Regions from separate parts of the Homo sapiens genome. Here regions 2, 3, 4, 5, 6 and 7 are each linked to region 1. The links are contacts of gene promoters, found by promoter capture Hi-C in blood cells and fetal thymus (Javierre and others, 2016). All regions are on one chromosome and are shown on one strand. The core of a region is centred on a gene start or on the middle of the fragment in contact, and the rest is flanking DNA. Distances in the headings are between cores, read along the strand shown. Region 1 holds the start of NKX6-1 (NK6 homeobox 1). Region 2 has its middle 21 kb from the start of ABRAXAS1. Region 3 has its middle 10 kb from the start of GPAT3. Region 4 overlaps GPAT3 (glycerol-3-phosphate acyltransferase 3). Region 5 overlaps GPAT3 (glycerol-3-phosphate acyltransferase 3). Region 6 overlaps GPAT3 (glycerol-3-phosphate acyltransferase 3). Region 7 has its middle 75 kb from the start of GPAT3.

Region 1 (3,857 bases), core at 450-2,949:
CGGGCTCTGCATCACTCCGGGCCAGAAGATGGGCGTCCGGCCAGGCAGCTCAGCCAGCGGCTTGGGGTACCGGCCCACGGCGGCCACGGCCGCGGCGCTGGGGCTGAAGTAGAGCCCGGGCGGCGGCGGCGGCGGGCTCAGGCTGCTAAAGCGTGGCAGTCCGGCCAGCAGCCCCGCCGGGGATGAGGCGGCGGCTGCGGCCGCGGCAGCAGCCGCGGCGGCGGCAGAGGCGGAGGAGGCAGAGGCGGACGAGGAAGAGGAGGAGGAGGAACCGGAGGGCGAGGCGGAGGGCAGGGCGGCCCCCGAGGCCACGGGCATGGAGGGCCGGCTCAGGATATCGTTGATGCCGTGTGGGGTGGCGGCCGAGAGCTGCTGCGGGGGGCTGCCGAGGGATGAGAGCCCCCCCGTGGCCGGGGGCTTCAGGCCGCCTGGGTTGTGGGTGCCCAGAGGCGGGGAGGGCGACGAGGAGGACGACGACGAGGACGAGGAGGAGGGGGGGCCGGCAGGCAGCGGGGGATACGCGGCAGGGTACAGCGGGGTCTTCATCTCGGCCATGCTGTGCAGGGCGGCCAGGGGAGGGCTGCTGAGCAGGAATGCGCTCTGCCGGGTGCCCTCCATTGCCCCCACCGCTAACATCCCACGGCCACGCCGGAGACCGTAGCCTTGCAGCGAGGGCGCTGGCTGGTGCCCCCCGCGGGGCTCAGAGGAGCCGGAAGCGCCGAGGGCGCGAGCGGAGAGGCACTCGGCGCGCCCGGAGGCGAGCTGCCAACTGAACCAAAAATGCCGCTGCCGGGAGTTGCTCGCCTAGCTGCGCAGCAGAGATGTCCAAACCCTCCACGCGGGAGGCGGCAGCTCGCCGAGAAAAGCAGGCGTCCCGGCGGGCTAGGCAGTCCTTTCGTTCCGCGAGTCCTAGATTCGATCCCTGGCTATTCTCTCTTCCTCACTTTTCCTAGCTGTTCAAAGTGCGCTACTTCTCATCTTCTGCCCCCGGGAAATAAGCAAAACAAAACCCAGGCTGGCTCCGGAGAGTTTGTAGCAAAGTTAGTTGCCGAATCTCCACTTTGAAGTTGGAGGGTGGGGGTGGCTTGCTTTCTTTGGGGAGGTTCAAAGGACGCCTTGTGCAGCCCGTGGCGCTCCTCTGATCTTACTGGGATGCTCTGCTCTTTCGGTCGCGCGGCTGATTCGCATTCGACGCTCACTGTGCCCGGGGAGAAAGCGCATCCAGCCCGCGGGAGATCTAGCCTCTGTGCGGGCTTCCTCCGCCCACGCTGCCCCGGGCTGCTGCGCCAGAAAGGGCAGTGCCACGGATCCCCGCGGCTCCCAGGTCCTCACCTCCACCCGCCTTGCCCTCTGGCCCACGGGGCACTGGAGTTGCAATATTGAAAAGAAAAAGGGGGAGGAAAAACACAGAAAAACAAAAGACTAAGTGTGAAAAGTCTGACGGCTGGGTTTCGGCGCCGCTCGTCAGTCCACTTCTGCAAACGGGCCCGGCGACCCCCGCCCCACCCCCGCTCCCTCTCTCCCTCTCACTCTCAGCCTTTGACTCTCCTCTCTGGCATTTTCTTCGCGGCTTCCCAGGCTTCGGTCTTCTAAGTCCTGTCCTCTGGCCAAACTGACCCTCTCCGCGGCTCCTCCGCTCTTTCTCTCCTTTCCTCTCTCCCTCCGGGCCTGACAGTTCAGATGAAGCTCTCAAAGGTAATAAAACATTTGCATCACTCCCTACCCCTCTTTAGCTGGGGGACGAAAGGGAGGGGGAAGTGGGGGACCAAAATGAGAACTTTGAGGGACGTCACTCCGAGGCTGCGGGGGCCGGCGAGCCGGGCGCAGGCCGGGGGCGTAACCACCGTGTCCAATAGCTCGCCGCCTCGATCCTTGCGTCGCCCCTGGGGCTCGCCCACTCGGGGGCGCCGCACCCTCTGATTGGCTGAGGCGGGCCAGGCGTAGGGCCGCGCCCGCCTAGTCCCCTCCCGCTCCCTACTTCTTTCTCCTGTGGGCGGGGCCAGGAGGGGCGGGAGCTGGTGAGTGGTGCGGTTCCGCGCTGGGGCCAGTGGCCGCCTCAATTAATTGTGCTAAATAAAATGAGAAAGGGGAGGGGGAAGCAGAGACGAAGAGGGTATTACTTTTTAAAGAGAGGAATAATGAAAACTCAGCCCTTTTATGGAAAAGCAGTTCATATTCTTCCCTTGCTTCCCCACTAGCCCGCTCGCGTCATCCTATCCCCTTCCCCCACCAGCTCTGGAGGGCGCCTCACCTCGAACCAAGTCTGGTCCCTTGTAAAATGGAGCTAATGGAGCAGGCAGCCGGCGCAGCCCTGGCCTGGCTCCTTCTTTTGAAGGGATTAATTAAAGGCCATCTGGGCTCTCCCAGAATTGTGTAAATTAATTTGTTGCTCCTTAAGCCTTATAGATGTCCTTAATCCCCTTGTAGGCCAAAGGATCGTCCTCTTCCATCTTTCCACCTCCTGCTTTCCTTTTCTGTTCTTTCTCCTCCACTTTATTTTTTTTTTCATTCCCGAGTTCCCCCCCGCCCGTCGCTTCCCACCGCGTTCATTATCATTTATGGGTTACTCAATTCGCTGAAAACTGAATCCGTTTAATAGGAATATTTATCTGTCAGATGATGTTTATACCTGAGAACAGTGAGGGAGTTTTTTCCCTTAACTTTTCTCCCTTTGATTATTGTTGTTATTTCCTTTGGGTTTACATGGGGGTAGAATCATCAAAATTCAGGCGGAAACTTTAGATACAGAAGCATCTAGGTACACCCTGGGAACTGTAAGCTTTTGAAAACCCTCTCCAAAACTCTGGCGCCTACTCCCAATTCTAGAGTTGCTACGGGAGATGGAGATGTACCAGCTCCTGGACAGTGGTGGTGGGATGTCTATCTAGAGTTTAGGAGTTGAAGGGTGGCTTCCTTTACTCTCTAAATCTCTTCCATCTCTGGCTGATCTTTACGTTCCCGACAGGGTTGAACTGCGGGCTGGAGAAGGAAAACCCTTTGACAATTTTGAGAATTCAGCATGTTAAAGTAACACACCATTGGAAGGTGGTCGCTACAGCAAATTTGGATGAGATCATTAATTACAATTTTAATGAGCAGAAAACAGAAATAAACGCAATAAATGGCTCAAGAATAAAATTTGATCAGCACCACCGACGGATGGAGTTTAGCTATTGGTGTCAAAGCGCTCATTTGGGTCCAAGCACGAAAAGCCAGGAGGGCGTACTCCGCTTCGATAACCTTCGTTTACTAAGCACTAGTTTTTAAGGGTCAGCTTGAGTTTGAGTCTGAAACTGGGGGAAGGAAGGGTTATATTTGCCAGTTTTATTTCCTTCTAAGATAGAAGCAATGTTATTTGGTCCTCCTCTTCCTTTATCTTTCTTCATTAACTTCAAGACTGGTTTAAATCTATTATTTCATGGACTTTAGAATCTGACCTGGGGTAAGGTGAAGTCCTTCGTCAGCATGAATAGTGCTAAGGAGTCAAGCCAAGACTTGCTTCAGAAGAGAGCTGATGTGCGGACCTTCTGCATTTCCACGCGGGGATCCAGTGCTTGGGTCTAAACCCCAGCGCCCTGCCACCTCGGCCAGGAAGCTGCGGGAGGATGGTGGCAGGCATAGCCCGTCCTAGCCTTGAAACTGGGGGGCCTATGTCTCTGGCTTCGTTACAAACGAAACGTTTCTCGCCTTCGGACACTCCACCCTGGCGGTGGTACCCAACCTTCAGTCTCCACTCTGCGCCTGGCCCTCCAGCGACCTCCTCACATCCTCCAGGACACTGCATTCTCAAGGACTAGGTAGGAATTGGGAGGAAAAGAGGCCAGTCATCCCCAAAGATTCCAATGTTAAAGAGTGAT
Region 2 (3,857 bases), core at 856-3,355, 990 kb before region 1:
ACTGAAACATGAGTGGTTTGGTCTAGGTCCTGCTGCTTGCTGCATAGAAAGCCAATCACTGAAACGACGAGTATCACCAAGGAAGAAAGCTTTAGTCAGATGCTGCAGCCAAGGAGATGTGAGCTCAGTCTCAAGTCCATCTCCCTGACTACTAAAATGCCAGGTTTATATATCAGGGACGAAGTGTAACAATGTGTAAGAAAACAAGAACTGGGGAGGGGCAAGGAAGCAGTCACCTGGTGCCGTGATCTGGTGACTTTCAGTTCTTTGATACTTATATTTTGAGAGGCCTGAAGGACCTTTCCTGAGGAAGGAACTCTGATAAAATAAATATAACCTTCAAGCTGAGACCAGAAGGGTCAATTTCTGTGTTAATCAAAAAGAATAGTCTATGAGACTATTGGGCCAGTTTCAATCTTTTTTTTTTTTTTGGAGCAACATGCTGTTTTAATGAGCACTTGGGTGCAGGCGGGCTGAGGCCTAAAATGGTGTCAGCCCCAAGTGAAGATGAGGCAAAGATTTTATAAACAGGAAGTGTCCTAGTCTGACGTAACTGCTACGTCGTACCTGGATGGCCTCTTTCTTGAGCTTCAGGCGTACGTGACTTCCGGCTGGCTCTCTTCCTGCTTCTGCTGTCTTGCTGACACACGCTGCTGATGCAGGTGGCCTTGCGCCTTGGGACTGGGCCTGAGCAGGCAGGAGTCACTCATCCCCTTAGGCTTTCAGGCCCTGGGGAGAATCTTACATTCTTGTCTATTTGGTTATAGCAAAGGGAAAAGGAATGACTTTCTCAATAACTACTTCAGGCATGACATAGGGGGTGGCGTGGACACCTTGGAAAAAGAAAACCTTAATTTTTTGGGTATTCTTGAGAGATGGGTTGGTAGCCACCACGTCGTTCTAGCAGGAGCATTGTTTGGATTGTCTGGAAACACATCTGTGCCTGCAAGACAGTTATGTTGAGAGGACAAGGCGGTGTTGACAGGGAGAGGCATGGCCTCATTTGCTGCTTCACAAATGAAAGACCATGTCTGGATTAAGGAAGGGAGGTAATTCTTGAGTGGCTCAGAGTCTGGTAAGGGTGGAGGCCCCAAAACAAAAGTTTGGCCATACATGATTTCAAAGGGACTATAAAAAGAGGATGTCTTTGGTGTTGTGCAGAGTCTCATGAGGGCAAAAGGGAGATTTTTTTGTTCACGACTGGTGGGTGTCTAGAGCCAGCTTGGTGAGTTGGGCTTTAAGGACAGAGATAACTTTTTAAACTTTGCCTGAAGATTGAGGCCTGTAGGGTGTGTGGAGGACCCATTTTATACCTAAGGATGTAGAGACGCCTTGGGTAATTTGGCTGGTGAAGGCAGGTCCGTTATCGGACTGGATGGCTATTGGGAGTCCGAAACCGGGAATTATATGCATGATGAGAGTTTGTGTGACAATATTTGCACTTTCTGAAGTTTGTGAAGTTGTTGGGAATGCTTCTACCCACCCGGAGAAAGTACAGACAAAGACTAGAAGATAGCAGAGCTGTTTATCGGGTGGCATGTGAGTGAAGTCTACTTGCCAATCTTGCCCAGGTACCTGGCCCTGGGCTTGGTGGGTAGGAAAAGTCCGAGGCAGGAGGGAGCCCTGGGGTGACACTGAGTGGCAGATAGAGCAGGACTGGGTAATTTCTCAAACACGGCTGGAAAGGTGAGGACAAGTGAGAATAGGGCGGAGAAGTTGCAGGAGAGGTTTGTAACCAACATGGAAAGAGTTGTGGAGGCTTTGGAGGTGAGGAAGGCTTTGAGAGTGAGGAAGAATAAAGCTCCGTTTCTTGACATACCATGGTCCTTGCTTTTGAAGGTTTTGGGCCCGGAAGTCCTCCTTTTCTTCTGAGGAGTAAAGAGGAGAGAACAAGGATAGGGACAGAGCATGGCTGGGTTTAGATGGGAGCTGGTTAGCATGGTGATGTGGGGAGTTTCAATGAATAGAGCATACAGTTGGAGGAGCTGTGGGGCAGAGAAGAGACTTAGTACACTGCGGTGAGCCAGCATGTCTTTGATGTTATCGGTTGAATAAACTGTTAGGTTGGCATGGACAGAAAGTTTTAGGCTTTCAAGGCCTAAAAGGAGAGCAGCTGCCACCAATGCTCAGAGACAGGCAGGCCATCCGGGAACTGTGGCTTTAAGCTGTTTAGAGAGGTAGGCAACAACCTGGAGAGTGGGTCCCTTAGACTGGGTTAGAACGCCTAATGCAACTCCACGCCGTTCATCGCTATAGAGGGAGAAAGGTTTGGTGAGGTCTGGGAGAGTGAGGAGAGGGGCTGAGATGAGAGCCTTTTGGAGTAGATGGAAAGGTTGGGTAATAGGCTGTGCAGGGTTTGAAGGCCCATGGAGAGGGCCTTTAGTGGCTTGGCATAACGGTTTGGCAAGTAGAGCAAAGGAGGGAACCCAGAGTCTAAAATATCCTGCTAGTCCTAGAAAAGAGAGAATGTCTTGCTTAGTTTGTGGAGGCGGGAGGGACTGGAGGAGGGATACGTGGTCGGTTGTGAGCCCTCAGGTTAGCGGGGTAAGGGCTAGGCCTAGATAGTGAATGAGGGGGTGCATATTTGTGCTTTCTTAGGGGAGACCTGATACCCCTGTTCTGCCAAGAAGTTTAAAAGAGAGAGATACTATGGGCGTTGCAGTCTCTTTGGGAGGGGCTACACAGGAGCAGATCATTAACACATTGAAGGAGAGTGGACAGTTTTAGGGATAAGGTACAGAGGTCACAAGCAAGGGCCTGTCTGAAAAGGTGGGCGCTGTCTCTGAAACCTTGAGGTAGTACGCACCAGGTGAGTGGACGTGAAATGTGGGTGTCAGGGTTTTCCCACGTAAAGGCAAAGAGGTTTTGGGAATCAGGGTGTAAAGGAATTGTGAAAAAGCATCCTTTAAGTTTAGGACAGAAAAATGGGTGGTATTGGAGGGAACTGCGGAAAGTGAAGTACATGGGTTAGGAACTACTGGACATACTGGGAGTACAGCTTGGTTAATGAGCCTGAGGTCCTGGACTAAGTGATTAAGTTCCATCTGGCTCTTTAACAGGTAGAATTGGTGTGTTACAAGGGGAGTTTGTTGGGCAGAATAGATGACTGGTGAGGAGGTGAGAAATGATAGGCTTTAGGCATATGAGAGCTGCTTGGGGGATGGGATACTGCTTCTGTGATAGGAAATGGGTGGGCTGTTTAAGGGTAATGTGGACGGGGCTATGGTGTTCTGCGACTGAGGGTGTGGAAGTATCCCAAAAAGCGGGGTTAACTACGGATGGGGGATAAGAAAAGGTTGCATGTTTTAAGGTGGGAGGTTGGAGGAGTAGAAGAAAGTTAGAAGCCCCAGAGGGGTCTGGGTTGATGTGTTGGATACGATGGGGAACGTGGAAGTGGAGAGTATTGTGAAGTTTTGAAAGGATATCTCTGCCTAGGAGCGGAGATGGGCTCGAGGGCAGGACTAAGAAAGAGTGAGTGAAGGAAAAGGTGTTCAGGGAGCAGAAAAATGAAGTGGGGGGCTCGGGGTTTGGAGACTTCTCTATCAATTCCCACAACAGAGACTTGGGAGGACTGGATGGGTCTTGAAAAATTAGGTAAAGCAGAGTAGTAGGTTGCTCGGTATTAATTAAAAAAACATACTGGCCTACCCGCCACCATCAGGGTTACCCTTGGCTTGGATGAAGCGATGGTAGTTGCCGGGGTGTCCGTTCCAGGGCACCATCAGTCTTCAGCGGCTAGGCCAATGAGATCCGGGTAGGAGGTTCTGGCCAGCTCAGGAAGGGATGGGGCAGTCCTTGCGGGGGCTGCTCACAGTCCCACTGCCAGTGGGGTCCTCTGCAGAGGGGGCACGGCTTGG
Region 3 (3,857 bases), core at 565-3,064, 970 kb before region 1:
CCACCCACCTCAGCCTCCCAAAGTGCTGGGATTACAGGTGTGAGCCACTGCTTGATATAAGAGATATGTCAATGCCAGGGTGATGACAAAAGACCGTGGAAGAGATGGAGAGGGGACACACTGAAGAGGTTACGTTCTGCAGACATGTGAGCTCAGGGTTGCCTGTGTTGGGGCTCAGGACCCACCACCCCAAAACATGACTATAGGAGACCAGACTATGACACCTCAAAATATACTTCTTTGGCATATTTCAAGCTGGTTATTCTAAGGAACTGCAGACACAGGAGTAGCTCTGAAAAGCTCTTGTTTTATAAAAGAAATTTAGATCTATAAACGAAATCTACATTAGTAAAAGTATCTATCAGGAAGCTCTGAAAAACTCATTTTATAAAAGAAATTTAGATCTATAAAGGAAATCTACATTAGTAAAAGTATCTGTATCAGGAAGAGGGCTACTTCAGATTACTTTTATTACCTGAGAGACTTCATCTGCATAACAAGATAGCTTTCGGCCGGGTGTGTTTGCTCATGCTTGTAATCCCAGCATTTTGGGAGGCTGAGGCAGCCAGATCACCTGATGTCAGGAGTTCAAGACTAGCCTGGCCAACGCAGTGAAACCCTGTCTCTACTAAAAATACAAAAATTAGCCAGGTGTGGTGGTGCACGCCTATAGTCCCAGTTACTTGGGAGGCTGAGGTGGGAGAATTGCTTGAACCCAGAAGGCAGAGGTTGCAGTGAGCTGAGATCGTGCCACTGAACTCCAGCCTGGGCGACAGAGCGAGACTCCATCTCAAAAACAAAAACAAACAAACAAACAAAACCCCCCAAAACAAGACAGCTTTTATCTACCATGCATTTCCTCCCCTCACCCTCTCATAACTTGTCTTTACCACACCCCAAAAGCTCCAAGCCCGTATTCCCTTCAGTAGCTCAGAGTGCTTTGAAAGCTTCAATCACCCAGCCCCTTTTCAAGTTCCATATTTTGTGGGACTCTTGTACATATATATGTAATTCAGTATGTTTTTTCTCCTGTTAATCTGCTTTATGTCAATTTAATTTATAGCCCAGCCAAAAGAGATATACGAGAACCGAGAAGGGTGGAGGGAAGTAATTTTTTTCCCTCTCTAACACCTGATTTTAGAATAATATAGGCATTTTAATTTTAGTGTCAATATTTTAATATGTGGGCAATCAATTCAAATTTTTAAAATGTATTTATTTACTTTTTTGAGACGAAGTCTCCCTCTGTCGCCCAAGCTGGAGTGCAGTGGTGTGATCTCAGCTCACTGCAGCCTCTGCCTTCCGGGTTCAAGTGATTATCCTGCCTCAGCCTACCAAGTAGCTGGCATTACAGGCACCCACCACCACGCCTGGCTAATTTTTGTATTTTTAGTAGAGATGGGGTTTCACCATGTTGGTCAGTCTGGTCTCGAACTCCTGACCTCAAGTGATCCACCTGCCTTGGCTTCCCAAAGTGCTGGGATTATAGGCATGAATCACTGAGCCTGGCCATTTATTTATTGAAACAGGGTGTTGCTCTGTTGCCCAGGCTGGTGTGTGGTGACATGATCATGGCTTACTGTGTAATCACCTAACAGGTTCTTCCTGTGGGCTGCACAGACAAAATCAATTCACTGTGACCATGACATTGTAGTAAGGAAAGAGTTTAATTGACATAAGGCTGGCCACACCACATAGGGAGATGGAGTTATTACTCAAATCAATCTCCCTGACAATTCAGAGGCTAGGGTCTTTCAGGGATAGTTTGGTGCACAGTGGGCTAAGGGAATGGGTGCTGCTGATTGGTTGGAGAAGCAATCATAGGGCTGTGGACAATGGTCCTTGCACACTGAGTCTGCTTCTGGGTAGGGGCTACAGGACCAGTTGAACTAAGAGTTGAGGGTCTGGGTGGAGCCATCTAGTTCTCAGAAATGCAAAAGTCTAAAGAGATGTCCCAAAAGGCCAATCTTAGGTTCTGAAATAGTGAATTGGAGAAGTTGCGAGTCTTGTGACCTCCAGAATAATGGCTGGTAATTGTTTAAGCCCACATTTTAGCAGAATTCGGGCCCCTGTCATCCTTCTAACCTGCTGGACTTTCTTTAGTTTTAGAAAGGCAGTTTAGTTTTGGGAAGGGTTACTATCATTTAAACTACAAATTTCTCCCAAAGTTAGCTTGGTGTGCACCCAAGAATAAGCAAGGATAGCTTGGAGGTTAGAAGCAAGATGGAGTCAACTATGTCAGATTTCTCTTACTGTCATAATTTTGCAATGGCAATTTTTCAACTGCACCCTCTATCTCCCAGGCTCAAGCAATCCTCTCACCCCAGCCTCCTGAGTAGTGGGGACTACAAGTGTATAACACTTGGCCTGGCTAATTTTTAAAATTTAGTTTTTGTAGAGATGGGGTCTCACTGTGTTGCCCAGGCTGGTCCAAACTCCTGGGCTCAAGCAATCTTCCCACCTCAGCCTCTCAAAGTGCTGGGATTGCAGGTGGGAAACACTGCCCAGCCAACTCAAAGTTTTTAGAGAACATTTTATGAGACCTTTGTAAAGGGCATCTGGCCTGTGGTTCTCTGGCTTGTGACTGCTGATTTACATATAACCAGTATATAAATGAGTTGGGAAGAGGAGAGCCTGGGCTTTCTCTTCAGAGGTTTCTCTTCACCTGTGTACCCACTCCTTCAAGCTTCATACTTGCCCCTGTGAGACCCTCCATTCAATTCAGCAAGTGTGTAATGACAACATCGTTTGCCCTGGGATGAAAATTCTCACCTCTAGCTCTCACTACTACTTTGAAGACTTGATATAGTAGGTTCAGGTATCAGATACTATGACAGTGGTTCCAATAAGACTAGATTAAGTCCCAGCACTTTGGGAGGGCAAGGCAGGCAGATCACCTGAGGTCAGGAGTTCAAGACCAGCCTGGCCAACATGGTGAAACCCAGTCTCTACTAAAAATACAAAAATTAACCAGATGTAGTGGCGTATGCCTGTAATCCCAGCTACTTGGGAGGCTGAGGCAGGAGAGTCGTTTGAACCCTCGAGGTGGAGCTTGCAGTGAGCTGAGACGGCGCAACTGCACTCAAGCCTGGGCAACAGAGCGAGTTTCTCTTTAAATAAATAAACAAACAAATAGATAAAGTTTAGCCTAAAGCTACCTCCTTACATATTTTAAGTTTGGCCTAAAGGTTTATCTGTACATAGCAAACTGGATGTGTAAATGGATGTGTAAACAGACTATAACCTACTCTTGTAGCAAGAGCAAGAAGCCAACTCTCAAGACAGCAGCCATACTTCAATCATTCACAGGTGGCCAGCTATTTAAGCAAGACAAACACTGAGCTGTAACCAATCCAGCTCTTTCTGTACCTCACTTGCATTTTCTGTGTGTCACTCTTTTTTCTGTCTATAAATCTTCGCTGACCAGACAGTAGTGCCAGGGTTGCTCTGAATCTATTTCTGGTTTTGGAAGGTGGGCTGTCTGACTCATGAATCATTCTTTGCTCAATTAAACTCTGTTTAATTTGTCTAAAGTTTTTAACAGTAGATCCAAGGATTAGGCTTTAAGCCTAAGAAAAGCCTAAGAAAAAGTTGGATGTATCAATCAATATTATCCTTGAAAAGTTCCCTAGAAATTCGCCATCATGGTGACCATTTTAGACGACCTCTCACCATGTTAGTTTTCCTTCTGAAACTGCCTTTTGCAAAAATTATGACAGTAAAAAAAAATCTGACATAGAAAAATTATGACAGTGAAAGAAATCTGACCTAACTGACTCCTTCTTGCCTTTAACCTCCAAGCTGCCCTTGTCCATTCCTGGGTGTAGGCCAAGCTAACTACAGGAGGAATTTAGCTT
Region 4 (3,857 bases), core at 691-3,190, 950 kb before region 1:
CAACATAGTGAAACCCCATCTCTACTAAAAATACAAAAATTGGCTGGGCCTGGTGGTGGGTGCCTGTTGTCCCAGCTACTTGGGAGGCTGAGGCAGGAGAATCGCTTGAACCCTGGAGGTGGAGATTGCAGTGAGCCGAGATCATGCCATTGGACTCCAGCCTGGGTAACAAGAGCGAAAACTCCTTCTCAAAAAGTAAAATAAAATAAAATATAAAATGTTAGCTCACGCCTGTAATCCCAGCACTTTGGGAGGCTGAAGCCAGTAGATTGCTGAGCTCAGGAGTTTGAGTACAGTCTGGTCGACAAGGTGAAACCCGGTTTTTACAAAAAATACAAAAATTAGCTGGGAATGATGATGCGGGCCTGTGGTCCCAGCTAGTCAGGAGGCTGAGGTGGGAGGATTGCTTCAGCCTGGGAGGTCAAGGCAGCAGCAAGCCCCTGTCTCAAAAAAAAAAAATTTTGTCTCTGCCCCTTCAAGGGTGCTTATGTTCAATAATAATTATTACAGTACTTTTTAGTATAAAAGCCCTTGGGATTCTCTAGAATGAGAGACTTGAAAAGTTCACTAGCAGTTTTTGAACTATGATGTTAATAGTGAATAATTTGGGAAATGTGTAAAAAATGTATAAAGAAAAAAATAAAAAAATCACATCTGGGTACGTTTCTTTATACTCCTAGGTATATTCAAAACAAAGTGAGAGTTGTTTTCCAGTTCTTAAATTCCCTCAAATCTGTAGATCTTCATAATTGTAACATTTTCCTATGCATCTTCATAAGTAACCATGTGGACAGATCATTTTCCGTAGTTCATGATTTCTTTTTCATTCTTTTTTTTTGTTTTTTTGTTTTTTTGAGAGAGTCTCACTCTGTTGCCTAGACTGGAGTGCAGGTGCCCGATCTCTGCTCACTGCACCTTCTTCCTCCCTGGTTCAAGCAATTCTGTTTCAGCCTCCAGAGTAGCTAGGATTACAGGCATGCGTCACCATGCCTGGCTAATTTTTGTATTTTTAGTAGAGATGGGGTTTCGCCATGTTGGCCAGGCTAGTCTTGAACTCCTGACCTCAAGTGATCCACCCTCCTCGGCCTCCCAAAGTGCTGGGATTACAGGCATGAGCCAATCGTGCCTTAGTTAATGATTTCATCGAGTCCTTTCCAGCTTTCCAAGTCTGTGCTGCCTCTTTCTGCAAGCTTATTTCTGATGCATCTTTGAGCGTGTCCTACCCCTGAATGTCTAATTTGTTGTGAAAATAATTGTTACACTTTACGCCCTACGTTTAGGCCCTTACATGTGTCATCTTGTTTAATGTGACAGCAACCCTATGGGATAGGATCTATTATCCTTGTTTTACAATGAGGAAACGGAGGCCTATAGGGAATAAGTAATTTCAAACCCAGACATTCTTGATGCCGTGACCTGTACTCATGCCCCCCATGCTTCACAGCCTTTTCAAGGAGTAATTTATCAGGTCACCAATGCATGTGAGGCAGTTGAGAAAGGGTAAATATTGTCCTTTCCACATTTTATTAGGGTATTATCAGTAAGTGATATAAAAGTATACTTGGGACTTGGAATATTGCTATATCAGAGATTCCCTGGGGTTAGCTCTTTAGTTCAGACACTGCCAGAGCTTGATGTGTAATTTCACTTCTGTATAATCATGGTTGAAGTGTTTTATGTTGTGTCTGTGGGACAGTTTAAATTAATATTTCTTGTTTTTGAACAGTGGGCCACAATACGAATTGAAAAAGGAACCCCAAAGGAGTCGATTCTTAAAAACTCTGCTTCTGTTGGTGAGTTTTCCTTTTCATTATGATTGTTACCATATTTAAATTGGGTGGATGTAAACCTACCCAATTTGAACTTGAAATATGCAGAGAGCAGTGTGTTCTATAGGGTTTGGATCTTTCATAATTCTGTCAGTGTAAAATTGCAGCTGCCAGAGTTTTCATGGACTTTTTATTGTAAAGGTGGTAATATGTGTTAGCTCATCTATATGTTCTTATAGGTATTGTTTTCCTTTCTAAGGGCATGTATTTGAAGATGGCTGTCCGTGGTTTTAAAGATGTAGTCGATGGCCAAAAGAAAAAAAAAAAGAAAGAAAAAGGCTAATGGGAGTTCCTGGGAGTTAAAACCTATTATTGAGGTTTCGTTAACCAACTTGTGATTCTCAAAGTATGTTCCTCAAAGTACTCTTTTCTGCTGAAGGCTAATTGGTAATACATGAAATAAAAAATAATTTTCTCGTGAAATAAGTTTAGGAATCATCACATACTATACTTGCCTTTGGAGAGTATTAGTGCCTACTAATAAAGGCTCAGAAAAGTCCTGCAATAAAGAAACATGCTTGACCAGGTGCAGTGGCTCACGCCTATAATCCCAGCACTGTGGGAGGCTGAGGCCGGCAGATCGCTTGGGCTCAGGAGTTCAAGACCAGCCTGGGCAACATGGCGAAACCCTGTCTCTACAAAAAATACAAAAATTAGCTGAGTGTGGTGGTGCGCACCTGTAGTCCCAGCTACTCAGAGTGGGGTCCTGAGGTGGGAGGATCACTTGAACCCTGGAAGTTGAGGCTGTAGTGAGCTGTGATCATGCCACTGCACTCTGGCCTGGGCAATACAGTGAGACCTCATTTAAAAAAAAAAAAAAGTCAAACTATCAAATACTTTACTGGAAGGAATTTATCTTCTGGAAGCTTTTCTAAAAGGAATTGTAGAAATTGTATTCTATAGTGAGTTTTGGAAATAACAAAATATTTGAAAACATTGGAGTATTTTTGTATAATTGGATTATGATTTTCAAATGATTGAAGCAACTAGTAGAGCTTCATGGTGTATACTTAAACACCCAAATATTATCACCAATCACATTTTTACCAAGTCCGGATATTTCTGGCTATATTTTATCCTTTTTTTAATTGCCAGATACCTTCTCTGAAATATAGCAGCTCTATCATTTAAAAAAATTATTCTGGTTCATTAAAAAATGTATGTCCTTATGATTTAAGGAAAGAACAAACTTTGTTGCTGGTTTTCTGTTGTGCTTGGTGAGACTCTGAGCTGTTGATCTTGAGAGAAAATCAGTGGGCCTTAATAGATTGGGGTGATTGTGGTACATGTTTTGGGCCATGAATTTTAATTTAATTTAATTTTCTTATTTAAATTAAATTAAATTAATTAAATTTTCTGCTTTTGAGACAAAGTCTCCCTCTGTCCCCCAGGCTGGAGTGCGGTGGCGAGATGTCGGCTCACTGTAACCTCTGCCTCCCAGGTTCAAGTGATTTTCCTGTCTCAGCCTCCTGAGTAGCTGGGACTACAGGCGTGCGCCACCATGCCTGGCTAATTTTTGTATTTTTAGTAGAGAAGGGGTTTCACCATGTTGGCCAGGCTGGTCTCAAACTACTGACCTCAAGCGATCCTCCCACCTCGGCCTCCCAAAGTGCTGGGATTACAGGCATCAGCCATTGCACCCGGCCCAGCCATGAGTTTTAAAGGACACAAAGTATTTCAATTTGGCAGGTGATGGGATTAAAAAATCAGTAGATGAGAGGGTCTAGTAGCGTGGATTTAGTTTTTTTTTTTTTTTTGCCTATACAGAAATGAGAACTTTTTGAATATTTATACTTGTTGGATTACTATTTTTATTATAATCTTTGTCAAATATCTGCTTTTTCTGTTTTTGATCTTTGTCTTTTCTATGGTGTCTCCAGGAAAGAATGGAAGTGAACAGGAGGAGAAAATAGAAATCATAGTATTTTAGAGTAATGCTGATACCCGCAAAATTTGTCATATTTCATTCAGAGTGTCTACCCTTCCTTGTAGCCTGTTAAATTGGAAATTGACTCTCACAGTTATTGA
Region 5 (3,857 bases), core at 375-2,874, 930 kb before region 1:
TCTTCCATTATATTTTCTAAATAATTGTTGTTCATGTATAGGAAAATTTTCTACTTTAGTAAGGTAGAAGAATATAAAATTAAGAATTCTCATACTGTATATGGTTTTTCAGGAATTTCCTTTTGTTCAGATATATAATTATTTTATCTTCAGATATTGATAGGCTTGCCATTTCTTATTCAACTTTGGTTTGCATTTTATTTCTTTCCTAGTTTGTACTTCATTTTTTTTCTCTTGTCTGGTTGTGCTGGCTGATACTCCCTGCAGTGCTAAACAGTAGTGGTGCTAGTTGGCAAGTTGGCATTTCTATGTGGATGGTCTTCAGTGCCTTTAGGGTCTTCCCAATAAAGATCATGTCAACTTTGATCTATTTTTCCATCTCATGTTAAATAGTTGCTGATTCTTGTTTTGTTACTTTAAATTAAGAGTGAATGTTGAATTTTCATGCTTTTAAGGCATGTCTGATGGTGAAGATAGATTACCCCTCTTAGACCCATTGTAGTGAATTTTATTAATAACTTTAAAAATATTTGAATTGTCTTTGCATTTATGGAATAAACATTACCTGGTCATAATATGATGCTGGAAGTTGTCTGCCAAAATTGAAGTTAGGATTTTTACAGTTGATTCTTATACTTGTGATTAGTGTATTACTTACCTATCTTCCTTTATTTCTCCTTCCCTTGTCAGTTTAAATGTTTGGTAGAATTCCTTAAAAAAAGGTCTGGGCCAGGAGTGGTGGCTTATGCCTGTAATCCTAGCACTTTGGGAGGCTGAGGCGGGTGGATCATTGAGCTCGGGAGTTCAAGACCAGCCTGGGCAACATGGCAAAATCCTGTCTCTATTTGAAAACAACAACAACAAAAAAAGCCTGGGTCTGGTGCTTATTGGTTGGTTAGGGGTGCATATGTAGGTATTTTTTTGCTGCCTGCAACATTATTTCATCTGTGCAAATGGTTCTCTTTAGCATGTTCATCTCTTGGTGTCAGTAAAGCTTTGAGCAACTTTTTTTTTAAATAGAAAATTATCTGTTTACCCAGATTTTCATTAAAGTTATTTGCAGAAGACTTTGTGTAGAATTCTTTCTTATGATTTTTATGATTTTCTGTTTTTTTCTTTGCACATTTTTATTTTGTATTATATGTGGGCTTTCTCTCCTGCCCTTATTTTATTTTTCTTAATTGGATTAAGTAGTGGGGTGTGCAGGTGCTTAAAGTAAACTTTACCCTGTTTCACATTAAAAAAAAATTGATTGTAACTTGTATCTTTAAATGTGCCAACCCAGGCCATGTTACTAGGGGGAGCGTGAGTAGTTTCATAACTCGAATGCTTTTTTTTAAAATAGGCAATTGTGATTGAGTCATCATGATTGAGTAGCGCTTAGGAAAACCAAAGGAGATGCATTTATTTTGAGCACATTTCATGTATATTAAAGGTCATCATAGTTGTGATGACTTCTTCCCCTTTTCATTTTATGGACCTATTGTATGGTATATCATAATCTATTTCTTCTAAGGCAGGGTTATTGCTACCAGGAAACCTGTGAAACTTTTATGTAGTGTTTTTTAACTTTTCATTTGTATTCACTTTTTTTTTTTTTTTGAGACGGAGTCTCGCTCTGTTGCCCAGGCTGGAGTGCTGTGGCGCGATCTAGGCTCATTGCAAGCTCCGCCTCCCAGATTCACGCCATTCTTCTGCTTCAGCGTCCGGGGTAGCTGGGACTACAGGCACCCGCCACCACACCCGGCCAACTTTTTGTATTTTTACTAGAGACGGGGTTTCACCATGTTAACCAGGATAGGCTCGATCTCCTGACAGGTGATCCACCCACCTCAGCCTCCAAAGTGCTGGGATTACAGGTATGAGCCACCACGCCCGGCCTGTATTCACATTTTTCATTTGTCATCCTCTTCAATTCCCCCACTTCCAATAACTGAGAAACTTAAAACCTTAAAATAACCACAAAACTGCCTAACAAGGAGCAACCTCTCTTACTAGTACATTGCTAATGTAACCATTAAATAGATAAAATACTATTCATAATATGTGAAATTAAGTGGAAAGATGTTATGTGTGTCTGTGACCTCCCAGTGTTCTAATGCTTACTGGTAATCAGTTGGTTCTCTCATCTTAAGTATTTCTCCTAAATCAGCTTCATTTGTAAGGTGAATGGTTTAACATAGATCTGTTGTTTGTATCAACAAAATGATAATGTTATTCAGAGGTAGGGGCAAGTCCAGGTCTTGTGGGGGCTTAAAGCTTATGCAATTTAGAGGCCTTCTTTAATAAGGAATACAAAGTGATCCATGCAAAAGTAAGTACAGGACCTTGGAAGGAGCCTATGCAAGTTTGGACCCTGAAGTTTAACCTTACTGGCTTCATGGTCAATCTGTCTTTTGCTCAAAGACCTTGAACTGAAACCTGGAGTGATGACTGAGAAGAATATAGCAGGGCTGCTTGGCTCTTTGGACCAAAAAAGAGAGACCATTTTCTATAAACCTTGCCTGGCTGACGGTCCAGGTTAATAAAGATGTAAAAATGGTAGAAGGTGTGAGAATATATCTAAGAACAATAACACCAACAACAAATCAAGGGGGATTATCCTTTCTAAACCTTGACTATGTCATCTGTGAGATGTGTAGGGAAGCTGCTTCTGCCGTGTAGAGGCCTTGAAGAGTAAGGATACTGGCAGGATGCCTGTGCACTGATGTTACAGAGTCTTAGCAGAGGGCAGAACGGTCTCCTTGGACAACGTGGACCTGGCTGAACTACAGCACTGGGGACCACTTGGTGCACCACTGCCCAGGGCATGGTTTTGTTTGTTTGTTTGTTTGGCTTATTGTAGGATGGCCCAGAGATTCTAAATGAGAGGAATTTAAGTGGGTTCCAAGCTGTAAAAGATTCCTGCCTCAGTTAAAAAAAAAAGGGTGAATTGTGTCACAACTTTCTGGGAAGAATGATCACGTGTAAGTGAATTGTAAGTGCATGTCTAGATTAATGTTAGATAGGGGCCATATATAGATTTTCTTGTATCAATTAAAGTTATCTTTCTTCCCTCAAAGGTAGGAGAAATGCTAGGAAGAGCTGCTACTCAGGGCTTTCTGTTTAGCAAGGAAGAACTGGGGGTGGTGTTGTATTGACGAGAAATATCTTACATATTTGGGATTCGTCAGTGGGCAGGTATTGGTTAGAGCGATGTGAAACTTGAGGCAATAACATATGAGGAAGCACTTGGTTTTGGAGTCACCGACTTGGTTGCAAATCCTGTCTCAGTTCCTTCTTCTCTCTGGCCCCAGGCAAGTTACTCAACCCCTCTGCACTTTAATTTCCTCATGTATAAGTTGGAGATAATACAGAATACCTCATAGGATTGCGAAGACTACAAAAGTGTAGGTGTCAAGGGTTTTATATACAGCCTGGCATCAGGAGACACTCAGTCAATGTCAGCTGCCTTTTAGTTTAGGAAGGAAGATTTTAAAATATACATGGGAAGATAGGATTGGCTAGAGCCTTTAATTGAAACTATAGCTAGAAATTTGGGAGAACTCTTTTTTTTTTTTTTTTTTTGAGACGGAGTCTTGCTCAGTCACTCAGGCTGGAGTGCAGCGGCACGATCTCGGCTCACTGCAACCTCCGCCTCCTGGGTTCAAGTGATTCTCCTGCCTCAGCCTCCTGAGTAGCCGGCACTACAGATGTGCACCACCATGCCTGGCTAATTTTCATATTTTTAGTGGAGACAGGGTTTTACTATGTTGGCCAGGGTGGTCTCGAACTCCTGATCTCAGGTGATCCACCCGCCTTGGCCTCCCAAAGTGTTGGGATTACAGGCGTGAGCCACTGTGCCCAGCTTGGGAGAA
Region 6 (3,857 bases), core at 368-2,867, 910 kb before region 1:
CATTTCTAGAAATTACTACTTTCCTTTTGAAGTCATTGGAATGTATATTAAAAGCACTTTTCAAAAAGAAGGCAATGTCTATATGGAGGTTAGAGGTACTGTCAGTCACCTTGTTTGCTAACTTCTGAGTTATCTTGAACCATGCAAAAGGACAACAGTTAGATTTGCATTAAAAGATGTCTACATGGTGGTATATTTTGGTGTTCTTATTATGAAAGCACCTTTAAATCTATTCCCTTCACTAGCCCTCTTAACCCTTTGGTGATTATATAGATTTAACTTGATAGTTTTGTGAAAATTTCCAGGCCTTCTCTATGCATATACAGACTTGTTACACATGTGTTTGTTGTTGTTTTGCAGATGGCATCATATTCTGTACTTTATTCTGAAACTTACTTTGCTTTTTGCCTCTTAAAGTGTGTCGTGGAACATTCTTCCGTGTTAGATCTATATAGATTTACCCAGTTATTTTAGTGGCTGCATCATATTTCATCATGTGGATACTCTACAACTTATTTACAATTTTATTATTTAGGAACTTTTTGGTTACTTCCATGCTATGTGTCAAAATCTTATATGGCCCTCTCTTTTCTTTTTCAGGGTTACCTTGGCTTTCATTGGGATCAGTTTGCTGGTTATAGGAACTACACTGGTTGGGCAGCTGCCAGACAGCAGGTGAAATGTTTCCTTCCATCCAGCCATATATAGGACTGTCTTTTTTCTTAGCTGTGTCCACAAAGAGAATATTTGTTTGATTCCTATGTATTGCATTATTATTATTATTATTTTTGAGACGGAGTCTCGTACTGTCACCTGGGCTGGAGTGCAATGGTGTGATCTTGGCTCACTGCAACCTCCGCCTCCTGGGTTCAAGAGATTCTCCTGCCTCAGCCTCCTGAGTAGCTGGGATTACAGTCACCCACCACCATGCCCAGCTAATTCTTTGTATTTTTAGTAGAGACGGGGTTTCACCATGTAGGCCAGGGGGGTCTCGAACTCCTGACCTTGTGATTTGCTTTCCTTGGCCTCCCAAAGTGCTGGGATTACAGGTGTGAGCTACCACACCAGGCTGCATTGCATTAAATTTATGTTCTCTACTCATTTATTAGAATCCTGCTCACTTCATCTTCATAGTCTTTGATTTTTTTAAATCATACTTCCATATTAATTGAAAGAAGTTGTTTTTTCAAAGGAGAATTGAAGAAAGAAAATGAACTGAGTTACCTAAGAGAGTCTTATATATTGGCAAGCTCATAAGACCAAGACCAAAGAAGCTTCACTTTATCTCGTTCAGGAATTTGTCATAATAGCCTAGTGGTTTTGAGCCACTTTTCATTAGAGTTATGTCCAGTTTTTTTGGTAGACTTTTGTGATCTAATACTAAATGTGCCAATGAGACTATAACAATTGACTATAAGACTATAAGAATTGAACTGTACCTGTTCACCAGAATAGAATGTGGTATGCTGTTGTGAAAAAGCACATTAAAACCTTTATTATATTGTTTCTTAAGAGTGCCCAGAATGGCACAATAAAATGTTTCTATTTCCTTCAGCCTCAAAAACTGGCTGAGTGAACTGGTCCATCTGACTTGCTGCCGGATCTGTGTGCGAGCCCTCTCTGGTACCATTCATTATCATAACAAGTGAGTATCTGCTCCAATGTGCCTGTCTTTTTCTAGGTCAATTCAGCATGAGATTGACAAGGAAGCATTGGAAGTGGTTGGGAAGAAGTGGGTGGAGTCAGAGTGCTTCCAATGTGTTCATCTCTACTTCTCAGTGTGGCACAGGCATGATGCACAAAAACACTAAATAGCAGTGTTTGCAGAAAGAATATAATAATAAACACGTAGTTGTGCTCAATAATTGGGCATTTATGGTGTGCAGGCCAGACCCTGTGTTTCTTGTAGCTCATCCCTATGAGATAGGCACTGTTAACCCATTTTATAGGGGAAGAAATGTAAGCTTTGGGATTTGTTGTTTAGGGTCACAGTGAATAAACAATGGAATCAGGTTTTGAGCCATGTCTCTCTGATTTTAAAAACAATGAAGTTGACAGGTCTGTACTGTGGTGGAAATAGGACTAGACGTGGAGTCTGGAAATGTGGTCTCTATTCTTAGTCCTGCTACTTCTAAAATTCCATAATTGAGCCTTAAAACAAAATTCTGCTTTTCTCTCCCAGAATTGTAGAGAATGAAGGCAGCAAAGGAAAGGAATTAGCTAAGTGAAAGTGATTTTGATTGCATTTGAACTACTTTTCTATTATCTTAATTTTTTTTAGATTTAACATCATTTTAAAAGTTCTAGGCCAAGCTTCTCTTTTTTACTGATTTGGTCTTTCTTTCTCATTTGTAGAAGGGAAACATTTTGCCATTTGGCTTTACCATGTGGTACCAACATAAAAGACCCTTTAAACATTTTAAATTATATGATGTTGCAATTGGACTATGAGTTTTAAAGTGAAGAGTGAAAGAAAACACTCTGGCAGGTGTGCAGTCAGAAGAAACACCTGTAGAAAAGGCACACTTATTACATAAAGAGGAGTTCCTAACTTCTTATAGAATTGCTTCTCATTTTGAAGAAAATATGCTAAATAATTGTGTATTTGGTTCTTTCTTCTCTGTATAGGCCCAAAGAAAACTACTTTGCTTTATTGGTGTCAAATACTGGTTTCACTCTAGGGTAGAGATCAACAAACTGAACTGGGAGCCTATAGGCCAAATCTGGCCCACCAGCTGTTTTCTGTAAATAACATTTTATTGGAACACAGCCGTGCTCATTCACAGCCGTGGCTGCTTTTGTGTCACAACAGCAGAGTCAAGTAATTGTGACAAGCATTGTCTGGCTTGCAAAGCTTAAAGTATTTGCTGTCTGGCCCTTGATAAGAAAAGTTTGCCAACCTCTGCTCTAGGAGGATAGGAGGGAGGAAATTATGGTGAATTTTCTCCGTGGATTACCATGAAACCACTAAAAGTGATGTATATGAAGATCAGAATAATGTGAAAATACTTCAGATTAAATAAGTGAAAGCTGTGTATTATCAATGGAAAAATCATGGGCCCCCTACCACACTCTCATCACACTACCTAGAGATCACCTTTTAAAGATGGGCCCGTGTACCTCCAAACTTAATTTTTAAAAATATACTTAAAAAAGACCAGGCACGGTGGCTTATGCCTGTGATCCCAGCACTTTGGGAAGCCGAGTGGGGCAGATCACTTGAGGTCAGGAGTTTGAGACCAGCCTGGCCAACATGGAGAAACCTCATCTCTGCTAAAAATATAAAAATTAGCTGGGCCTGATGGCACATACCTGTAATTCCAGCTACTTGGGAGGCTGAGGCAGGAGAATTGCTTGAACCCCTGGAGGTGGAGGTTGCCATGAGCCAAGATTGCACCAATGCACTCCAGCCTGGGCAACAGAGTGAGACGCGAAAAAAAAAATTACATATATACACACACACACACTTAAAAAAGTAAGATGAGTATTTACATGCTGTGGCTATTTTAGAAGACTTCGAATTTTCCATTGTTTGTAATTGCAGGCAGTACAGACCCCAGAAGGGAGGCATTTGTGTTGCCAACCATACTTCCCCCATTGATGTTTTAATCTTGACAACGGATGGATGTTATGCTATGGTAAGAGCAGCTCATTGATATTTCAAGTAGTTGCATGTTTTATGGATTGATCAAACTTTTTATTTTGGCATAAATTAGCAAGTTGGTTTTATGTTAGAAATTTGACTGCGTTATACTATTGTAGCTATATAAGTTATGTAATGTATTTACATGAGGAATATGTAGTGCAAGAAAAGGAAGGAAAATAGCCATGATATTTAAGATGGTAAAAAATTAACT
Region 7 (3,857 bases), core at 972-3,471, 890 kb before region 1:
CAGGAGGTGGAGGTTGCAGTGAGCCAAGATTGCACCACTGCACTCCAGCCTCGGTGACAGAGTGAGACTGTCTCAAAAAAAAAAAAAAAAAAAAGAAAGAAAGAAAAGAAATATATACAATAAATTGTTAACTCTAGCCACCTACAATGCTATATAGAACACTAGAATTTATTCCACTTGTCTGTCTATAATTTTGTATCTGTGAACCAATCTCTACCTATACCCCCCTCCCTCCTACACTTCTCAGCCTTTAGTAATCACTATTCTACTTTCTACTCCTATGAGATCAGCTTTTTTAGCGTCGACATATGAGTGAGAACATGTGGTATTTATCTTTCTGTGCTTGGCTAATTTCACTAACCATTAATGTCCTCCAGCCTTAGCCATGTTGCTGTGAGTGACAGGATTTCATTCTTTTTATGGCAGAATAGTATTCCATTGTGTATATACACCACATTTACTTTATCCATCCATCTGTTGATAGACACAGGTTTATTCCATATCTTGGCTACTGTGAATAGTGCTGTAATAAACATGGCAATGCAGATATCTCTTTGACATTCTGATTTTCTTTCCTATGGAAAAATACTCAGTACTGGGATTGCTGTGTCATATGGTGGTTCTATTTTTAGTTTTTGAGGAACATCCATACTGTTTCCTATAATAGCTGTCCTAATTTACATCTTCACCAACAGTGTATGAGTCCCCCTTTCTCTGGACCTTTGCCAGCATTTGCTATTTTTTGTCTTTTTGATAATAGCCATTCTAACTGGGGTGAGATGCTATCTCATTGTGGGTTTGATTTGCATTTCCTTGAAGATTAATGATGTTGAACATTTTTTGTAAACTTGATCATTTGCATGTCTTCTTTTGAGATGTCTATTCAGATCATTTGCCCACTTTAAAATCAGATTATTATTATTATTATTTTGCTATTGAGTTTTTTTAGTTTGTTGTATGTTCTGGATATTAATCTCTTGTCAGTGGCTAGGTGCAGTGGCTGACACCTGTAATCCCAGCATTTTGAGAGGTGGAGGTGAGAGAATAGCTTGAGGCCAGGAATTTGAGATCAGCCTGGGCAACACAGTGAGACCCCGTCTCTACAATTTTTTTTTTATATCAGCTGGGTATGGTGGTGCATATCTGTAGTTCTAACTATTTGTAAGGCTGAAGCAGAAGGATCACTTGAGCTCAGAAGTTTGAAGCTGCAGTGAGCTATGATCACTGCACTCTAGCCTGGGTGACAGTGACACCCTGCTCAAAAAAAAAAAAAAAAATTCCCTTGTCAGATGATTAGTCTGCAAAAATCTTTTCCCATTCTGCAGGTTGTCTCTTTAATCCATTTATTGTTTTCTGTGCTGTGCAGAAGCATTTTAGTTATATATGATTCCATTTGTTTATTTTTGCTTTTGTTTCCTGTGCTTTTAAGGTCTAATTCATAAATTTTTTGCTCAGAACAATGTCCTGAAGCATTTCTCCTATTTTCTTCTAGTAGTTTCATAGTTTTGGGTTTTTAAAGAAGACCAATGTCCTGAAACATTCCCTCTATTTTCTTCTAGTAGTTTCATTGTTTTGGGTTTTTCATTTAAGTCTTTAATCTGTGTTGAATTGATTTTTATACTAAGGATCTAGTCTCATTTTTCTGCACATGGATATCTAGTTTTTCCAGTACCATTTATTGAAGATACTGTCCTTTTTCTCATTGAATGTTTTTGGCACCTTTGTAAAAAATCAGTTGGCTTTAAATACATGGATTTATTTCTGCATTGTCTATTCTGTTTCATTGGTCTATTTTTCTTTTTATGCCAATATCAAGCTGTTTTGGTTAATATAGTTTTGTAGCATATTTTGAAGTCAGGTAGTGTGATGCCTACAGCTTTGTTCTTTTTGTTCAAGAATCATATGGTTTTTGTTTTTCATTCTGTTGATGTGATGTATCACATTTATGAATTTGCATATATTGAGCCATCTTTGCATTCCTGGGATAAATCCAACTTGATCATGGTGTATATTTTTTATGTGCTGTTGAATTTGGTTTGCTAGTATTTGTTGAGGATTTTTGGATCTTTGTTAATCAGATATTTTGGCCTATACTTTTCTATTTTTTATTGTGACTTTGTCCGGTTGTATTATCAGAGCAATGCTGGCCTCATACAATGATTTTGGAAGAATTCTCTCCATTTTAACTTTTTGGAATAGTTTGAGAAGCAGTGAAATTAGTTCTTTTTAAATAATTTTGTAGGATTCAGGAGTGAAGTCATTTGTGCCTGGTCTTTTCTTTATTGGGAGATGTTTTATTACTGGTTCAGTCTGGTTACTTGTAATTATTCTGTTCAGGTTTTTCATTTCTTCTTGGTTCAGTCTTGGTAGGTGGTATGTGTCCAGAAATTTATCCATTTCTGTTAGGTTTTTCTAACAGAAATTAGGAAGTAGAGTTGTTCATAATAGTTTCTAATGATCCTTTGTATTTCTGTGCTATCAGTTGTAATGTCTTTTTTTTCACTTCTGATTTTATATATTTGGGTTTTTTCTCTTTTTTCTTAGTCTAGCTATTCCTTTTCAAATTTTGTTTATTGTTTCAAAAAAGCAGCTTTTTGTTTCATCTTTTTTTTTTGCATTTTTTTGGTCTTAATTTCATTTATATTTGCTCTGATATTATTATTTTCTTCTACTAATTTTGGGTTTGGTTTGTTCTTGCTTTTCTAGTTCCTTGGGGTGCATTGTTATTTATTTGAAATCTTTCTACTTTTTTTGATGTATGTGTTTACTGATGTAAACTTCCCTCTTAATACTGCTTTTGCTGTATCCTATAGGTTTTGGGTGTTGTGTTTCCACTTTTATTTGTTTAAATAAATTTTTAAATTTTCTCCTTAATTTCATCATTCACTCATTGGTCATTCAGGTGCATGTTGTTTCATTTCCATGTATTTGTACAGCTTCTAAAGTTCCTCTTGTTGTTGATTTTTAGTTTTATTCCATTGCGGTCAGAACAGATACTAGATGAGATTTTGGTTTTTAAAAATCTGTTGAGACTTTTTTTGTGGCCTAATGCATGGTCAGTCATAGAGAATGTTCCATGTGCTGATGAGAAGAATATGTATTTTACAGCTGTTGAATGAAATGTTCTTAATGTCTGTTAAGTCTTTTGGTTGTAGTATGTTTAAATTGGATGTTTCTTTGTTGATTTTCTGCCTAGATGATCTCTTCAACGCTGAGAGTGGGGTCTTGAAGTCCCCAACTACTATTTTATTGGAGCCTATCTCTCCTTTTAGATCTAATAATATTTGCTTTATATATCTGGGTACTCTAGGGTTGGGTACATATACATTTATAATTGTTATATCCTGTTGCAAAATTTATCCATTTATCAGTAAATAATAACCTTCTTTTTTTTTTTTTAGACGGAGTCTCGCTCTGTTGCCAGGCTGGTGTGCAGCGGTGCGCTTGGCTGATTGCAACCTTTGACTCCCAGATTCAAGCGATTCTCCTGCCTCAGCTTCCTGAGTAGCTGGGATTACAGGCACGCGCCACCATGCCCAGTTAATTTTTGTATTTTTAGTAGAGACGGGGTTTCACCATGTTGACCAGGATGGTCTTGATCTCCTGACCTCATGATCCACCTGCCTCAGCCTCCCAAAGTGCTGGGATTACAGGCATGAGCCACCATGGCTGGCCCTTTGTCCCTTTTTTTAAAATAGTTTTTTTACCTAATGCCTATTTTATCAGATATAACTATAGCTATTCCTGCCCACTTTTGGTTTCTGTGTAGAATATCTTTTTCTATCCCTTCACTTTTGATTTATGTGTATTTTACAGGTGAAGTGAGTTTCTTGTAGACAGTATATGGTTGGGTCATT

The links. Contacts are between HindIII fragments. The CHiCAGO score rates a contact against its expected background, and 5 or more counts as called.
Region 2: a contact is called between a fragment that was not itself captured here and the fragment with the promoter of NKX6-1 in region 1, in 7 of 17 cell types (M1 macrophages, monocytes, M0 macrophages and 4 more). The highest score is 8.9, in M1 macrophages.
Region 3: a fragment that was not itself captured here is called in contact with the fragment with the promoter of NKX6-1 in region 1 in 1 of 17 cell types (monocytes); the score reaches 9.4 in monocytes.
Region 4: a fragment that was not itself captured here is called in contact with the fragment with the promoter of NKX6-1 in region 1 in 1 of 17 cell types (monocytes); the score reaches 5.1 in monocytes.
Region 5: a contact is called between a fragment that was not itself captured here and the fragment with the promoter of NKX6-1 in region 1, in 1 of 17 cell types (monocytes). The highest score is 7.7, in monocytes.
Region 6: a fragment that was not itself captured here is called in contact with the fragment with the promoter of NKX6-1 in region 1 in 1 of 17 cell types (activated CD4 T cells); the score reaches 5.2 in activated CD4 T cells.
Region 7: a fragment that was not itself captured here is called in contact with the fragment with the promoter of NKX6-1 in region 1 in 1 of 17 cell types (monocytes); the score reaches 5.2 in monocytes.

What each region holds. Positions count from the first base shown.
Region 1 is chr4:84,497,593-84,501,449 of GRCh38, forward strand. NKX6-1 (NK6 homeobox 1) reads right to left here and starts at 1,700. Exons shown (of 3, transcript NM_006168.3): 1 at 1-1,700. The coding sequence starts at 636. The HindIII fragment of the contact is 5,978 bases long and covers 1-2,777 here.
Region 2 is chr4:83,504,538-83,508,394 of GRCh38, forward strand. No RefSeq gene overlaps it. Among named protein-coding and RNA genes, the nearest start is that of ABRAXAS1, 21 kb to the left of the region's middle. The HindIII fragment of the contact is 4,036 bases long and covers 88-3,857 here.
Region 3 is chr4:83,523,751-83,527,607 of GRCh38, forward strand. No RefSeq gene overlaps it. Among named protein-coding and RNA genes, the nearest start is that of GPAT3, 10 kb to the right of the region's middle. The HindIII fragment of the contact is 1,739 bases long and covers 946-2,684 here.
Region 4 is chr4:83,542,810-83,546,666 of GRCh38, forward strand. GPAT3 (glycerol-3-phosphate acyltransferase 3) reads left to right here. Exons shown (of 12, transcript NM_032717.5): 2 at 1,727-1,793. Among named protein-coding and RNA genes, the nearest start is that of GPAT3, 8.6 kb to the left of the region's middle. The HindIII fragment of the contact is 1,505 bases long and covers 1,189-2,693 here.
Region 5 is chr4:83,566,924-83,570,780 of GRCh38, forward strand. The region is part of intron 2 of GPAT3 (glycerol-3-phosphate acyltransferase 3); the gene reads left to right. Among named protein-coding and RNA genes, the nearest start is that of GPAT3, 33 kb to the left of the region's middle. The HindIII fragment of the contact is 1,265 bases long and covers 993-2,257 here.
Region 6 is chr4:83,586,655-83,590,511 of GRCh38, forward strand. It overlaps GPAT3 (glycerol-3-phosphate acyltransferase 3), which reads left to right. Exons shown (of 12, transcript NM_032717.5): 4 at 601-675; 5 at 1,556-1,645; 6 at 3,545-3,638. Among named protein-coding and RNA genes, the nearest start is that of GPAT3, 52 kb to the left of the region's middle. The HindIII fragment of the contact is 690 bases long and covers 1,273-1,962 here.
Region 7 is chr4:83,608,954-83,612,810 of GRCh38, forward strand. No RefSeq gene overlaps it. Among named protein-coding and RNA genes, the nearest start is that of GPAT3, 75 kb to the left of the region's middle. The HindIII fragment of the contact is 5,435 bases long and covers 1-3,857 here.